Linked DNA regions of Homo sapiens: regions 1 and 2 are each linked to region 3. The links are contacts of gene promoters, found by promoter capture Hi-C in blood cells and fetal thymus (Javierre and others, 2016). All regions are on one chromosome and are shown on one strand. Each heading gives the region's core, a stretch centred on a gene start or on the middle of the fragment in contact. The rest is flanking DNA. Distances are from core to core; before and after follow the strand shown.

Region 1 (3,510 bases), core at 322-2,821, 320 kb after region 3:
ACCGAGGCTGCAGCATTTGAGAGTGAGTTATGGGTTGCAGCAGAACTAAGGTACACACCTACGCCTGTACAATAAAATAAGGAGACAACTGAGAGGTGAGATGCACAGGTGGAAAGTGCTTTATTCATCCCCTGAGCTGATGAGATCGAACATATGCAACAAAGTATCTTAAAGTAAGTAAAATATTCCAGCGAGGCATCCCCCACCCAGCAGCACACTTGTAAAATTCATCATCATGTCATTAATAAAAGTGTCGGAACAGGCAAGGTGGATGACCTGATTAAGTTCACAGAAAAAATGAGGGATTTTCAATTCTGTACAGAAGGACAGCTGCAATGCCATTATGCTTTGTAACAGAGAATATAGGATGCTCACGATCCAGGACACCAGAACCAGCAGTCCACAGAGCCAGGAGTTCATAATGACTGTGTAGTGCAGGGGGTGACAGATGGCCACAAACCGGTCATAGGCCATCACAGTCAGGAGTAAGCTGTCCAACACTACAAAGAGTATAAAAAAGCACATCTGGGTGATGCAGTCTGCATAGGTGATGACTCTGCTCTGTGTCTGGATGTTCACCAGCATCTTTGGGACAGTGGTAGACACAAAACAGATGTCTGCAAAGGACAGGTTGGAGAGGAAGAAGTACATGGGGGTGTGGAGGTGGGAGTCTGAGATTGTGGCCAGGATGATGAGCAGGTTCCCGAGCACGGTGACCAGGTACATGGACAGAAATAGCCCAAAGAGGAAGGGCTGCAATTCTGGTTCCTCTGAAAGTCCCAGGAGAAGGAATTGTGAAATTTGTGTCTCATTCCCTGGTTTCATCTTGTTGATGTGACTTCCAAAAGAGAGAGAAAGAGAACATGACACAAGCATGCATTACAAACATATCAGAAATATTCTCACTTATATTCTACAGTCAAGAAGTTAATATGGGCTGGCTGCAGTGGCTCACGCCTGTAATCTCATCACTCGCGGAGGCCAAGGTGGACGGATCACCTGAAGTCAGGAGTTCGAGACCAGCCTGGCCAACATGGCAAAAACCGGTCTCAGCTAAAAATACAAAAAAAATTAGCCGGGCGTGCTGGCGCATGCCTGTAATCCCAGCTACTTGGGAGGCTAAGGCATGAGAATCACTTGAACCCAGGAGGTGGAGATTGTAGTGAGCCGAGATCATGCCACTGCACTCCAGCCTGGGCAACAGAGTGAGACCCTGTCTTTAAAAAATAATAATAAAATAAAATAATAAATAAATAAATAACTTCCTACAATTTAATGATGAATGAAAAATACAAGTATGTTTTTAAAATGCCATCCTCAATATCAGATGGTGATGCATCCTATGAAGAAGGAGGTTAGAAGGAAAGAGTGGATGGGGTAATAGATTTTCCAGGGTGTTCAGGCAGGACCAGCAGAGAAGGTGACAAATGAAGAGAGCCCATAATGAAGACAGGGTGGAGGGCACTACGTTCCCTGCAGAAGTTTGTGCAATGGAGCAAAATGATCAATGAAAGACCCCGAGGAATGTGCTTCTTTCAGATATTTGAGGACTGCGAAGAAGACAGTGTGGCCGGGGAATGAGCAAGAGGCGAGGGCTGTCGGAGGATGTTAGGGAAGGAAGTGTCCTCATAGCTGCTGAAATTTGAAGACACAAAGAGTCCCTCTGTCCAGATACTGATGCCTTTAATTTGGCTGCAAAGGTGTTTCATGAACTGCAATGCATGCTCATTCTGTTTACTGATATTTTCCTGAGATGTGGCCTTTATCTGATGGGTTACCTTTTGAAATATAGAGATCAGGTTCCCTATCTCTGAAACCTGTGCTCACTCTAAAGTTGTGCACCCACACACGTGCACACACACACAGAGAACGCACCCACACAGGCAGCCATGGCTTCCTGGGGCCATGTTACCCCCTCACGCTTCTCATCCCACTCACAGTATTAGAAAGGAATGGATACCAGGCAAGCTGTTAATATCAAATTATCTTTCCCCAAGAAGATACAGATATGGTACCTAGAATTTCCAGTTTGAAAACTTCTCATGCATATGGAACCTCGAGCGCCACTGCACTCCAGCCTGCGTGACAAAGCGAGACTCTGTCTCAAAAACAAACAAACAAACAAAAAACCGAGAGGCAGAGAGAGAAAATCGATTGGAACTGAAGGGAAAAATAATCTAATAAGCTCACATAGTCCCTCAGAGACCTTAAGGAAGAAAAGGCTTCCTTAGTTTTGAAAACATTCCAACTCCTCTTATATCCCTGAGGCCCAGCAAAAATCAGAAAAGACAAAGGGAAATTTACCAAATATCAAACATGGTGATATCTTTTCTGTGTCAAGATACTGATAGATTGAGAATCCCCATGGAAAAAAAAATGAGCAAATGATAAAAATCAACTATTCAAAAAGGAAATACAAAAGGAACTTCTGGGCCAGCTTATTTATTGTGCTGGGGTCTGTCCTGTGCATTGTACGATGTTTATCAGCTTCCCTGTTCTCTACTGACCCTCCCCAGGGTGACAGCCAACCCAGTCATTGCTCAATGTCCCCTGGGAGACAAAACCACCCCTGGGTAAGAACCGATTTTTAACATAAAAATCACAAAATATTTCCATACCTTTTATCAACTGAGAAAGGACAAGGGAAGATGAGCCTTAAAACAAACAAACAAACAAAAAAACCTATAGTCAAATATAAAAAGCACATGTGTTATGCATAACATACTACTCAACCTTTGTATAAACCTTTGTGTAAAGAGAAGGTTTATGAGGAACTAAAATCTTATGGAGAATAGAATATAAGTGAGGATGCTATTAGGTTAAGAACAGTTATTTCATTTTATGGCTGCATAGTATTCCATGGTGTATGTCCTTTGCAGGGACATCAATAAAGCCAGAAACCATTATCCTCAGCAAACTAACATAGGAACAGAAAACCAACCACCACACATTCTCACTTATCAGTGGGAGCTGAACAATGAGAATGCATGGACACATGGAGGGGAACAACACACACTGAGGTCTGCTGGCGGGGGGGGTGGTGGGAGGGAGAGCATTAGGAAAAATACCTAATGTATGCTGAGCTTGATACCTAGGTGATGGGTTCATAGGTGCAGCAAACCATCATGGCATACGTTTACTACCTAACAAACCTGCACATCCTGCACATGTACCCCAGAACTAAAAATTAAAATTAAAAAAGAATAGTTATTTCAAAACAGCTGCATGAATCAACATAGAAAGAAAGTCTGAAAAATCCTTATAGAAAAATATGACAGTAATAATTTACTGACATAAAGATGCACCACTAATTCACTGTGAAATCGCCTCTTGGAAATTGAAGAATATCACAGGAAAATGTTTAAAATGTGGGGAGGAAACAGTATCTAAGGTTATAATTTCGTATTATATAAACATATAAAGCTTCAAATGTTTAGGGGAGATAGATGTGAGGTTTAATCAGATGATAAGCAGCCAGATTAGGACTCCAAAAGGAAAGCATGTCCCATC
Region 2 (3,818 bases), core at 591-3,090, 300 kb after region 3:
ATTTCCCTCAAATACATTGAAAGTTACATAACAGTAATAAAAGACATATGCCAAAATTGATGAAGAACTCCAAGTCTTATATTTTGATAAATGAAATAAAACAGGATTAAAAATATTACAAACCCATTTTACAAAAGGAAAGTTCATGTACAGTTTGCAATAGCTGTAAATGTCTAACAAATACACAGATATATTTAGCTTCACTAGTAAAAAAAAGTGGCAAAGTTTGTTAGTATTTCACTTTTTCACCCATTAAATAAGTTTTTGATTTCATTTGAATACTTAGCATGAGAGAAGATACTACAAAATGTATACCTCATGACTGCTGTTGTCAGGTAGTTTTTGAAAGGAATTCATTGGTCTGGATCTTTCTCACCAATATGGAAAGACAGTCAAATATGCCCCTTCTTAAAAACAAACAAACGAACAGACAAACAAATCCCTCTCTTCAGTGTATATCTCTCCACAGGTAATTGACAGAGCAGGAGCACCATCATCTTGGACAACCGCCACTTTAAGTTCCAGCTCCTTTTCTAACCTCATGCATCTTAAGAAAATCACTTCTCTTCTAACAACAAGCAGCCAGAAAGAGCAGACAGTAAAACACAGATAAGACAGCTCGGGCATAGAGGGAGGGGGAAAGTCTCTTGGGTAACCACCAAACCTGGCACTCACACAGTGGGCCCCAGAAAAACAGTGGGCTCTAATAAGCACATTCCTTTCCCTTTAGGTGCACTAAGATAGGGAAGCTAAAAGCAGACTTGGGGGGTATGCCTGCAGCTGCAAGAAGATGTACGGGAACAGACACAAAAACTCTCTCTCCAGGTAAGCAAGACAAAGAGGCACAGAAACATTCCAAGCCGGTGATAAGCTCTCCCGCCTTGAACCCTTAAAAACTCTTAGTCTGTAAGAGAGTGCCTTGGCTGGCACAGTGGCTTACATCTGTAATCCCAGCACTTTGGGAGGCTGAGGCAAGCAGATCATGAGGTCAGGAGTTTGAGACCAGCCTGGTCAACATAGTGAAACCCTGTCTCTACTAAAAATACAAAAAATTAGCTGGGCGTGGTGGCAGGCACCTGTAGTCCCAGCTACTTGGGAGGTGGAGGCAGGAGAATCACTTGAACTTGGGAGGCAGAGGTTGCAGTGAGCTGAGATTGCACCACTGCACTTCAGCCCGGGCAACAGTGTGAGACTCCGTCTCAAAAAAAAAAAAAAAAAAAAAGAAAGAGAGTACCTCTGACCTAACTCAGCCAGAAGCCCCTCTCAGGTTTGTTCTCCAAAATAAACCTGTCTTCAACCGTTGAGCTGCTTTTCATGTTTCTTTAACTATTACAGTAGTACCCTATTTTTCATCTTCACTTAATTGTAAAGATCCTTGGGCACGGATGCTACTTTTACTGGAGCCACTTTAATCATCTCATTTCCTCTTCTAATTGGGCTTCTATTACTATTACTTCATTGTCAACAATCATCCTCCAATGCTGAATTCAATGTTCATGTCTCTTTTTAGTATCCTAAGTAAATACCTGAATCAATTAATTAGTCAGGCAAGTTAGCAAACAACCACAACAATCTCTCCACTCTAGCACTGGTTGGTTTGGCTCTCAGGTAGCCTTAGGTTCACGTTCACAGCTCCCATTCTCCCTGACCCTTTCCCGCAGTACCTACTGGACTCTTTGACTTACCTTGACTGGTTTTCTGAAAGAAAAGCCTCCATGTGGAAGTGTGAATTCCTCCCTGAATGGTTGTTGGTGGAGATGGAAGCTCTGTCCCGAGACAAGACAGTAGGAGAAAGGAAAGCATCGGTGCCCAAGCCAGCAGATTTAGACTCCAAAAAACACAAGCATGTCCCATCCAGCCCAAGGTTGCATATGCTAAGTGACAACAGCCAAGGGGGTACTTACAGATTTGCACATTAGGTGCATTTCCTCTTGTTATTCCAACCCTGAGCAGATCATTTTCCTTTGGGATTTTACCCTGCTCTGAATTGATTTTTTCCCTGTATTCTCTATTCCCAAGACACCATATTAAGCCTGCAGTGAATCCAGTCTTTATTATTCCTTCTCCATGGACTTGTTTGCCTTCCAGAGTTCTAACCTCCTAATGCCTTACTCTATTCCTCATTCCCGAGGGAAGGTTTTCTCCTAAGTCTAAACTAAGGAACTTGTCTTAACTATGTTCCTTGCATCTCCAAGGTATTCACTTGTGATGGGAACACAGCCCTTGATATCTCCAGAATTATCGCTATTTTCCTCTTTAACAAGGGGGTGAACTCTGTTCTGATATAAAACCGTGAGTCCTACATTTCTTGAAATCATGATGCTTTTGCCAAAACAATGAGAAATTTTGTACTTCTTAAAAAGGTTAAGAGCTGTCATTTAATTCTTCATGTATAAAACATCTGGTTACTCTTAAGAGATATATTTGGCTCTTTTCATGCAAGTTGCCCTGAGAATAGCACCTTCTAAAGATTATTTAATTTAATTTTTCAAAATTTATTTATTTAAATTGACAGATAAAATTGTATTTATCACAAAAAACATCACATTTTGAGGTATATATACATTACAGAATGGTTAGGTCTAGCTAATGGATATATGTTTTACCTCACATAGTTATCATTTTTGTAGTGAAAACACTTAACATCCACTCTCTTAACATTTTCCAGAAACACCATATATCATCCTTAAATATAAAATCTTCATGCTATACTATAGATCTGCTGAACGTATTTTTTCTGGCTGCAATTTTGTATCCTTTGACAAACATTTCCCCACTCCTCCTCCCACAACAGCTGTAGCCTCTGGTAGCCACTGTTCTACTCTATAATTCTATGAGATCAACTTTTTTATATTCCATATGATTAAGATCATGTGATATTTGTGTTTCTGTGCCTAGAATATTTCACTTAACATAATGCTCTCTAGGTTCTTTCATTTTGTTGCAAATCACAGTATTTCCTTCTTACACAGGGCTGTATAGTATTCCATTATGTACATATGCCACATTTTAATATCCATTCATCCACTAAGGTACACTTAGATTGACTTCATATCTTGGCTATTGTGACACTGCAATAAACAGGAAAGTGCAGATATCTGTTTAATACACTATTGTCATTTCCATTGGATAAATACCTAGTGGGATCCCTGAGTCGCATTCTATTTTTAACTTTTTGAGGAACGTACATACTGTTTTCCATAATGGCTATACTAATTTACATTCCATGAACAATGTATAAGATTTCCCCTTTCTCCATATCGTTGTCAGCATTTGTTATTTTTCCTGTCTTTTGATAATAGCCCTGTTAGCTGGGATGACGTGGTATCTCATTGTGGATTCAATTTGCATTTCCCTGATAATTCGTGACTTTGAGCACTTTTCATGGACCATTGTATACTTGTATGTCTTCTTTTGAAAAAAGTGTCCTCAGGTCGTTGCCTATTTATTAATCAGATTATTTTTTCCCACTATTGAGTTTTAAAATACATTCTAGATAACCATTTTTCAGATGTTTAGTTTGGAAATATTGTCTCTCATTGTACAGCTTTTCTCTTGGATCTGTCAATTATCTCCTTTGCTGTGCAGAAGATTTTTTAGTTTGATGTCATCCCATTCATCTATTTTTACTTTTGTAATCTATGCTTTTGAAGTTTTATTTTGAAAAATCTTTACCTTGGCTAATTTTATGAAGCTTATCCCATGTATTTTCTTCTAGTAGTTTCATAGTTTTTGGTATTCCATTTAAATATTTATTTCATTTAAAGTTAATTTTTGTATATAGCAAGAAAAGGAATCTAGTTTCCTTTTTCTGAATG
Region 3 (3,679 bases), core at 339-2,838:
GTGTGAGACACCATGCCCGGCCTCAATTTTTATATTTTTAGTAGAGATGGTGTTTCACCATGTTGGCCAGGCTGGTCTCAAACTCCTGACCCCAGGTGATCTGCCCGCCTTAGCCTCCCAAAGTGCTGGGATTACAGGCATGAGCCACCACGACCGGCCACCCTTCACGTCTTTGTTTCCAGCCACTGCCTCTTGGAAGCCTGCTTTGACACCCCCAGCTCTGCCTGATTCCACAATCTTTCCCACTGTGCTGAGTTCTCTGGAGACAGTGCCTGCATCCCTCCAGTTCCCTGCTGTATCCGCGGTGCCTAATGTGGGACGTGGCCCAGAGCTGGTGCTCGGTATGCCTGTGATATTACTACATTAAAAGCAAAAACAAACACACGAACCAAAAAACCATCCTGGGCGTAGTGGCTCACATCTTCAATCCCAGCACTTTGGGAGGCTGGGCAGAAGGATCGTTTGAGCCCAGGAGTTTGAGACCAGCCTGGGCAACACAGCAAGACCCCCAACTCTACAAAAAATAAAAAATCAGTCTGGCATCCTGGGGCGCTCCTGTAGTCCCAGCTACTCGGGAGGCTGAGGCGGGAGGATCATTTGAGCCCAGGAGGTCGAGGATGCAATGAGCTGTGATTGTGCCACTACACTCAGCCTGGGCAACAGAGCAAGATCCCGTCTCAAAGCAAAACAAAGCACTTTGCAGGACAGTATTTGCAGCTCGAATCTTCCTTATTTCCTTGTGCATACCCCACAATTGCAGTGACATCAGGAAGGGGGTACAATGAACGTGTCCCTGCCCTCCCATGACTCCCCACGTCCCCCAAGACTTGGCCCGAGGCCGGGCGTGGTGACTGACTTCTGCGATCCCAGCACTTGGGGAGGCCGAGGCGGGCGGATCACTTGAGGTCAGGAGTTCAAGAGCAGCCTGGCCAACAAGGAGAAACCCCGTCTCTACTAACAATACAAAAAAGTAGCTGGGCATGGTGGTACACATCTGTAATCACAGCTACTCGCGAGGCTGAGGCAGGAGAATCGCTTGAACCCGGGAGGTGGAGGCTGCCAGTGAATCGAGACCAAGCCACTGCACTCCAGCCTGAAAGAAAAAGCGAGACTCCGTCTCAAAAGAAAAAAAAAAAAGACTCGACCCAGCTCTGCGCGTCGCATTCCTGCCCGAACCCCCACTTGTCGCCTCACTTTTGCTCCCTGGCTTTTGCTCAAGCCGTGCCCTTGGGCTGGAACGCCTCCACACTGAGGTGGGGTCATGCACGTCCTGTGGACTCCTAGTCTAGACCCAAACCCAGATACAACACCTGAGGTTAGAGCCCAGCCCTGGGGTGCCAGCCCTGGGGTGCCAGGTGTTCAGGCACCCGCGCCCCACGCCCTCTGGCTGCGCCTGCGCACTGGGCCTCACCGCGCTCCTTGCGTTCGGGGAAGCCGTAGTCTGGCGGGAAGGTTGGCATCTGCAGGGGGTCGGGCTCCACCGAGGCATCGCCCAGGTAGCGCCGGACCAGGTGGGCCCCCATGGCTGCAGTCGCTGCAGATCCCTGCAGCAGCCGAGGGTCACCTAGCTCCTACCCGGAACCACTGACCCCTCAGTCAGACACAGCTTCCGGGTCATTTAGGCAGCTGCGGAGATCATAGAGATGAAGGACTCCAGAGGATCGCTCCGGTCCGCCTGGCGTCACCTCGCGGACAGGCGGAGGCGGGACAGGTGCTGTGTCTCTTCGCAGGATATGGTTGGACCCGAGAGGGGACTTCCCTGAGCCTGGAAATCCATCTGGGCGGGGCAGAAGGGGACGGTGTGGGACTGAGGCCTCCCTCGACCCTATCTGGGGCTCTTCTGGTAGCCCGAGGCTAAAGCACATATTAAAATTATTTTTCATATCATTTTCCAAAAAGTTTTTTCTTTGAAAACATTCAAATTTCTCTTAAAAAAGGCACGATATCTATTATATCGTTAATGTATGTAATTTTGCATAAAGTCACTTTAAGAATTTTTTGTTTTTGGAGACACAGTACCTGTCGCCCAGACTGGAGTGTATTGGCGCGATCTCGGCTCACTGCAGCCTCCACCTCCTGGGCTCAAATTCTCTTGCCTCAGCCTCCTGAGTAGCTGGGATTACAGGCGCCCGCCACCACCCCCAGCTAATTTTTGTATTTTTAGTAGAGACGGGGTTTCGCCAGTTGGCCAGGCTGGTCTCGAACCCCTGACCTCAAGTGATTCCCCCGCCTCAGCCTCCCAAATTGCTGGGATTACGGGCATGAGCCACAGTGCCTGTCCAAGAAAGATTTTGATAAATTTAATTTAAATAAAAGTTATTCATAAATACAGTTATTATTATATTATTATTTTTTGAGATAGGGTCTCATTCTGTCGCCCAGGCTGGAGCACAGTGGCACAATCATAGCTCACTGCAACCTTGAACTCTTGGGCTCCAGGGATCCTCCCGCCTCAGCCTCTCAAAGTGTTGGGATTATGGGCGTAAGCCACTGTGCCTGGTCAAAAACAATTATTTAAAGCTGAAATTTCAAATAAATTATATATATATATGCAATCTTTATACAATTTTAAAATATATTAATATCTAATATTAATATCTAATATATATTTTTCCCCAGTCTGACAAAGCATGTATTAGGCATCTACTGTATGGTATGCTGGGTCCAGTGGTCAGACAGAAAGGCAGACGTGGTTCCTGTCTTTCAAGCTTACAGTCTAATGGAACAGAAAAACAGTCTAATGGAAAAAAAAAAATATGGGCCAGGGCAGTGGCTCACACCTGTAATCTCAGAGCTTTGGGAAGCTGAGATGGGAGGATCGCCTGAACTCAGGAGTTTGAGACCAGCCTGGGCAATATAGGGAGACTCTATCTCTACAAAAAAAAAAAAAAAAAAAAAAGCTGGGTGTGGTGGTGCACGCTTGTAGTCCCAGCTACTCGGGAGGCTGAGGCAGGAGGATAACTTGAGCCCAGGAGTTCCAGGCTGCAGTGAGCCGTGATCCCATCACTGCACTCCAGCCTAGGCAACAGAGTGAGACCCTGTCTATAAAAATTCCCAGGTGATGTGATGTTGCTGGTCTAGTGACCAGCTTTGGGAGAATTACTCAACTAGATCTTTATGTGTTGACATGGGGAAGTGGCTGCTGATATATTAAGTGAAAAAAGCAAGCTATTGAGAATAGACAACTGGCAATAGAGACTTTTCTTTTTCTTTCTTTTTTTTTTTTTTTTTTGAGACAGAGTTTCACTCTTGTTGCCCAGGCTGGAGTGCAGTGGTGTGATCTCGGCTCACCGCAACCTCCGCCTTCTGGTTTCAAGCGATTCTCCTGCCTTAGCCTCCTAAGTAGCTGGGATTACAGGTGGGTGCCATCACGGCCAGCTAATTTTTTTTTTTTTTTTTTTGAGACGGAGTCTTGCTCCGTTGCCCAGGCTGGAGTGCAGTGGCGCAATCTCGGCTCACTGCAAGCTCCGCCTCCCGGGTTCACGCCATTCTCCTGCCTCAGCCTGCCGAGTAGCTGGGACTACAAGCGCCCGCCACCACGCCCGGCTACTTTTTTTGTATTTTTAGTAGAGACGGGGTTTCACCGTGTTAGCCAGGATAGTCTTGATCTCCTGACCTTGTGATCCGCCCGCCTTGGCCTCCCAAATAATTTTTTTGTATTTTTAGTAGAGACGGAGTT

What was found. The method cuts DNA at HindIII sites, captures the fragments that hold promoters and counts their contacts. A CHiCAGO score of 5 or more calls a contact.
Region 1: a fragment that was not itself captured here is called in contact with the fragment with the promoter of NDUFB7 in region 3 in 4 of 17 cell types (total CD8 T cells, naive CD8 T cells, total CD4 T cells and 1 more); the score reaches 7.5 in total CD8 T cells.
Region 2: a contact is called between a fragment that was not itself captured here and the fragment with the promoter of NDUFB7 in region 3, in 2 of 17 cell types (naive B cells and total B cells). The highest score is 6.3, in naive B cells.

The regions. Positions count from the first base shown.
Region 1 is chr19:14,891,980-14,895,489 of GRCh38, forward strand. It overlaps the pseudogene OR7A1P. Among named protein-coding and RNA genes, the nearest start is that of OR7A17, 7.6 kb to the left of the region's middle. The HindIII fragment of the contact is 3,700 bases long and covers 1-3,421 here.
Region 2 is chr19:14,865,470-14,869,287 of GRCh38, forward strand. No RefSeq gene overlaps it. Among named protein-coding and RNA genes, the nearest start is that of OR7A10, 18 kb to the left of the region's middle. The HindIII fragment of the contact is 3,703 bases long and covers 1-3,692 here.
Region 3 is chr19:14,570,478-14,574,156 of GRCh38, forward strand. It overlaps NDUFB7 (NADH:ubiquinone oxidoreductase subunit B7), which reads right to left and starts at 1,589. Exons shown (of 3, transcript NM_004146.6): 1 at 1,412-1,589. The coding sequence starts at 1,523. RefSeq lists an enhancer at 1,521-1,810. The HindIII fragment of the contact is 3,352 bases long and covers 1-2,706 here.